Linked DNA regions of Homo sapiens: region 2 is linked to region 1. The links are contacts of gene promoters, found by promoter capture Hi-C in human tissues and cell types (Jung and others, 2019). All regions are on one chromosome and are shown on one strand. Each heading gives the region's core, a stretch centred on a gene start or on the middle of the fragment in contact. The rest is flanking DNA. Distances are from core to core; before and after follow the strand shown. Region 1 holds the start of CCL17 (C-C motif chemokine ligand 17). Region 2 overlaps ADGRG1 (adhesion G protein-coupled receptor G1).

What was found. The method cuts DNA at HindIII sites, captures the fragments that hold promoters and counts their contacts. A contact is called where the count stands out against the background at its distance.
Region 2: a fragment that was not itself captured here is called in contact with the fragment with the promoter of CCL17 in region 1 in 1 of the 25 tissues and cell types used here (spleen).

What each region holds. Positions count from the first base shown.
Region 1 is chr16:57,403,271-57,406,315 of GRCh38, reverse strand. CCL17 (C-C motif chemokine ligand 17) reads right to left here and starts at 1,549. Exons shown (of 4, transcript NM_002987.3): 1 at 1,480-1,549. The HindIII fragment of the contact is 13,083 bases long and covers 1-3,045 here.
Region 2 is chr16:57,630,791-57,633,835 of GRCh38, reverse strand. All of the region lies in intron 1 of ADGRG1 (adhesion G protein-coupled receptor G1), which reads right to left. Among named protein-coding and RNA genes, the nearest start is that of ADGRG1, 3.7 kb to the right of the region's middle. RefSeq lists an enhancer at 2,090-2,745. The HindIII fragment of the contact is 6,695 bases long and covers 1-3,045 here.

The DNA.
Region 1 (3,045 bases), core at 300-2,799:
CTACAAAAAAAATAAAATGAAAATTAGCCAATCATGGTGGTGCACGACTGAGCCATGACTGTGGCACTGCGCTCCAGCCTGGGCAAAAGAGCAAGATTCCATTTCAACAACAACAAAATAAATCTGCTTCATGGGCACAGAGCTAGCTGGTGGCAGGAGCAAGCCTGGGCTTCTGTCCTAGACTTTGTTTTTGCCTCAAGCAACCTTCCCTTCCTCCCTGACATCATCTACCCCAGATCTTTTACCTCTGGATAAAGACTTCTTTTTTTTTTTTGAGACGGAGTCTTGCTCTTTCGCCCAGGCTGGACTGCAGCAGCGCTATCTCGGCTTACTGCAAGCTCCACCTCCCGGGTTCACGCCATTCTCCTGCCTCAGCCTCCCAAGTAGCTGGGACTACAGGCGCCCGCCACCATGCCCGGCTAATTTTTTTTTTTTTTTGTATTTTTAGTAGAGACGGGGTTTCACCGTGTTAGCCAGGATGGTCTCGATCTCCTGATCTCGTGATCCACCTGCCTCGGCCTCCCAAAGTGCTGGGATTACAGGCGTGAGCCACCGCACCTGGCCTGATAAATACTTCTTAAATCTCTGTCTCCAGCCCTGACCAGTAACTAATCAGACACACCCACCTGGACACTCCTCCTTCCGGCCCATCTTTCTGTGGCACCCCTCAGCTCTCTCTGCCTTGCAGCCTGGCCAGCTCTGTGCAGTTCTGTCCCCCACACTAACCTGTGAGCTGCTGGGAAGCAGAAGTCTGTCCTGCTATGGTTCACTCAGCCCCAGGTACCAGAAGGGCAAAACCGAGTTCCCTCTCACACCAGCCTCCTTTTTTTCTGTTCAAGCCAGCATTGTTTCCCATCTCCCCATCTGCCCCCAAGTCTGAAACTTTGCCCTTGACTCATTCCTCGCCTCCATCCCCCACATTACATCAGGCAGAGACTCTGCCCAGCGCTGTCTTCAGTGGGAGCTTGGCTTCCTTGCTTCCTTCTCATCTCCACTGGCTCAGCCCTCATCCTTCACACCCAGAGAGTCTCAAAAACTTCTGGGCCTATTTCTTCCTCTCTGGTCTCTCCTGACACCTCCCTCATCAGCTGCATGCCCACATGTGGTGGATCTTTCACAAGGGCTGCCCTGACCATGTAATGCCCCCTTCCTCCAAAACCGTCAATGGCTCCCTGCTTCCTTCCCCATCCAGTCAAAACTTTTCAGGCCAATCTTGAAGCTGTACCTTCCATCTAGCCCCTCCTTCCTATTCAGTCTCATCTCCCTGCTCCCCAACATTGAGCTTTCTTGAGGGCCAGTGCGTCCCCTCACTTTGTGACTTGGTTTGCTGCTTCCAAACTCCTGTCCCCTTCTTGTATGGATTATCTTCCCTTGATCCAAAGTCCATCCACCGCTCATCTAACACATGCCCTGAAAGATCCAGCGAGGGGGTCACCTCACAGTGGAGGGGTTAGGAGCAAAGACTCTAGGTCAGGTCACCTGGTTTTGAATTCAGCTCTCCCATCAGCAGGCGGTGACACTGTGAGCTCAAAGTCACTTCTCTCTGAGCCTCAGTTTCTACAGCTGCAAAATGAAAATAATAACAATAATTACATTAGAAGGCTTTGGTTTGCATCAACTGCCTTACTGCTTATATCTGGCAAATAGTACACGTTTCTGACTTTAAATATCATCTATATGCCAACCACTCCCAAGTTTCTCTCGCAAACTCCAGCCTCCTTCTACGTCCAGCTGCCTACTCGCCATACCAAATAGGCAGCTCCAACCCCCCAAGTCTGAAGCTGAATTTCTGATTCCCACCCACCCCTACACCTGCTCTCTCCTCCTTCTCTGCCAGCCCCTTCCTTCCGGTTACTAGGGCCAGAAACCTGGGCGCTATCCCTGACGCCTCTTCCTCTCGCCCCCAACTTCCCATCTGTTGGGTGAGCTCATGTCTCTGCTTTCCAAATACACCCAGAAACCAGCATCAATCCCTGGCTTCCTACAACTGCCTTCTGGGTGCTCTCCCTGTCTCCATCCTTGCCCCCTACAGTGTATTCTCAGCACAGCAGCAGAGGGACCATGAATCTCCCGTGTTCAGAACGTCCCCGTGGCTCTCCACCTCACGCAGAGGACAAGTCCAAGACCCTCCAGCAGCCACGAGGCCCCGCGAGTTCTGTGCCCTGCTCTCTGCCCACCTGTATCTCCTGGTTCCCTGGTTCACTCTGCCCCAGCCACCCTGGCCTCCTCCCTATGCCTCAAACCAACCAGACAGACATGCTCCTTCCTGAGGAGGTTTGCACGGACTGTTCTTTCAGCCTGGAATGTTGTCCCCAGATACCTGCAGGACTCACTCCTTCACCTTTTTCAAACTTTTTTAGGCCGGGCGTGGTGGCTCACGCCTGTAATCCCAGCACTTTGGGAGGCCGAGGCAGGTGGATCACTTGAAGTCAGGGGTTCGAGACCAGCCTGGCCAACATGGTGAAATCCCATCTCTACTAAAAATACAAAAATCAGCTGAGCGTGGTGGCAGGTGCCTGTAGTCCCAGGTACTTGGGAGGCTGAGGCAGGAGAATCACTTGAACCCAGGAGGCAGAGGTTGCAGTGAGCCAAGATCACACCACTACACTCCAGCCTGGGCAACAGAGCAAGACTCTATCTCAAAAAATATATATATATATATATTATATATATTTATAATATATATAATATATATTATAAATATATATTATATATATTATAAATATATATTATATATATTATAAATATATATTATATATATATAAAATATATATTTATAATATATATAACATATATATAATATAATATATATATTATAATATATATATTATTATATAATATATATAATATAATATATATTATAATATAATATATATATTATAATATATATTATAATATAATATATATATTATAATATATATATTATATATAATATATGTTATATATATTATAATATATATATTATATATATTATAGATAATAATATATATTATATATATTATAGATAATAATATATATTATATATATTATAGATAATAATATATA
Region 2 (3,045 bases), core at 260-2,759, 230 kb before region 1:
CGGTAACATCCTGGGAGGATGGCACCATTGTTCCGGATAAAGTCTCCAATGCTCTCTAAGAACAAGGCTTGGTCATGGCCCAGAAGGGGCAATTACAATAGCACTTGAGGTGTGCCCAGCCCTGCACTCAGCACTTAAAATACAGAGGCTCACTTAATCCTCTCAGGATGCCATTACCAGCCTCATGTTTACAATTAGGAAGACGAGGCACAGAGAGGTTAATATACCTGTCCCAGGCCACACAGCCAGTAGAGCTGGGACAGAATCAGGCAGCCCCAGAGCCCACACCCCTAACAGCCCACCTCGTGCTGCCTCTCCTAGGGGGCAGCCTGGCTGAGGGATGGAAAAGCAAAGGTCTGGGACAGCTGGGGACAGGGTCTGCGTCTCATGAGCCCCTATGACGTGTGGCTGTCTCGGTTCATCCCCACAAAGCCGCATTTAGGTATCAGAGACTTTCACAGCCCAAGTAATGAAGTTGTGAGAAATTCAGCCGCTTGCTCTAAGTCATTTTTCAAGGATTTGAGCCTAAGTCAATGAGCCCATGACCTGGAAGATTAAACCTCCAGCTGAGGTTTAGGGAGAACCTCTTGAAGTCATGCACTGTGCTAGGTACATACTTTGCAGCCACTTTTGCCCCAAATTCCACAGCAACCCTGCAAAGGGATGTATTGTTATCTCCATTTACAGGCAGGGAAACGGGTCCAGAGAAGCTGTCATCTTTGGCAGTGGAATGCAAGTCTCCACAGCTCCTCTCAAAAGTCAGCTTTCCCCCATGGGCCTTGAGCATCCAGGCTGGGGGTACTAGGAGGACAGAGACCTGGGGACGGGAGGGGAAAGGGCCTGGGAGGTGGCAGAGGCGGCTCTCTATCTCACTGTTCCTTGTTTTGCAGTTGGTGTAAGTGGCCCCGAGTCTGGGAAGCCAAGCCAGAGCCATTCACCGCAGAACTTTTCAGGCCACCAGGGTTGGGCTGGCTCTTGGACAGCAAGGCCATCTCCCCACCGCCAGGCCATCTCCCACTAATGCAGAGAGGCCTGTCCACCGGTGCCCGGAAGCATGCCAGCTCCTCCGGGGCTGAGCTTTTATCTCTGCCTGGAACTGCCAAGCATACCACAAACTGCCTGAGCCTGCGCAGGCGCCAGCTCGGGAGCCCGACGCCCACCACACTGGCCTCCTCACCAAAGCACGAGTCAGGCTGGAGGTGGGTGAGTGAGCGCCACTGGTGTCCAGGTGGCCGCAGCTCTCCCAGCAGTAGCGGGGGCAGGGAGAAGTGCTCACAGTTATTTCAGGTTATCTCTGGGCCTCAATACAGCCATCTGTCCAATGGGAGAGGTATTAAAAAAAGGCTTAACATTCCCACGTATGGGAAAGGCACTTTCCCATATGCTTTCCTCTATCAACTCTCTTCATGCTCATAATAGCCTCTGAAGCAGATGTGATTGTGATCCACAGTTTACAGATGAGGAAACCGAGGCACAGGCCCATGTTCCCACAACCAGAGAGAAACAAAGCCAAGATTCTCCCTGGGCAAGCCACCCTTGCTGTCTCTACGGGCCCTGTCACCCTACAGGTGCGTGGATTTGGCAGTGGCAGGGGCAGGGTTCAAGACACGAGCATGTGCCTGGCTGGCTGAGGAGCCTCCTCTCCACCAAGGGACAAGAGCCCAAATTCTGGATCCCCAAAGATGTGGGGTTGCTCACTGGGTAAGCCTCCCCTGCCTCAATGTCCTCATCTGAAAAGTGGGTGTCGTGTGCAAGGCACTGAGCCCAGGGCCTGGCAGAATCTGAGGTCAGGGAAGGTCCAGGATTGCTCCCATCCAGGCTGAGCCATCAGGGAACCAGGGAGAGTTTGGGGCTTAGCTGACCTCCTGCCAGGGCAGGCTGGCACTGGGCAGTGGTCAGAAAATGTGTGTCCCTTCCTACTCCCCAACCCTTGGCCCCTCTACCCAGCAGTCCAGACCTAAGACCAGAATCTACAGGGCTCCCCTGGGGGCCTCAAGGAGCCCCAGATGGGGCACCAGAGACAGGAGGAGGGGCAGGGTCTCAGCCAAGTGACGGCTCAGGAGAAAGGAGGCCTGGGAGGCTGAGGCCGTGCCACAGCCCCGCCCCACCCGGTTTGAGAGACCCCTTTGTGCCAGCCCGCCCCGCCCCCCATTTGCCATCTGCCCAGTTGCTGTGTCTGGTCACCCCTGACTGCTGGGTTTGCTCACATGATGTCCCCATCTGCTGTGAGTCAGAAGGCGGGGTCCACAGGGCCACCCCCAGCATGGGGACGGGGGCTGAGCCCTGATCAAGCTCCAGTCTGGGAGGAGGAGGTGGTGCTGGGGTTTGGGGCTCTGTTGTCACACTCCCCTCTCCTCCCTACTTCCACCCGACTTCCCCACGGCCTCCTCCATGGCCTCCCTGGGAGCCCTGCCACATGGAAGCCCATCCTGCATCCCTGAAATGGCACAGCCCCCCAGACCCCACCTGCACACAGCTTCTGCACAGGATGGCGGAACCCGCATCCCAGTCCGGCTGGAGGACGGTCCGCAGTGGTCCCTCCATGGCTGTCCTGCCCACTCCTCTTACCTGCCTTTGTCATGCTGGGCCTTGCCAGGAGGCCAACCCCTACACCAACCCTGCTGCAGCTCTGCCACCTCTCTCCTGTCCTTCCCCTCGACTGGGCGCCACCTCCCCCTCGTCTCCCTCACACGTGAAGCTGCTCCCAAGCTTGAGCCTTAACCCAGCAGCCAGAGACTGGGACTGCCTGGCCAACCTCACACTGAACACCCATCCTGGCCCTCCCCGTCCTGCTGGGTTTGCAGCCTGGGCCCCCAGCCCCACACAGCACCTGCCTGGCGAGTCCTCCTGCCTCTCTTCCCCCCCACAGAGCAGATTGAGACCTGCTGGCCTGGCTCATCAAGTCCCATGAAATGACCCATGCCAGGGGTCCGGTATCACCCTCCCCGTGGTCCCCAGCTTGTATCGTTCCCCAAATGTTTTCCTAAGTAGTTTCCTCCACTAGGACTCCCCCTACAGTGCTCATACAGACATCAGTCCCTTCCC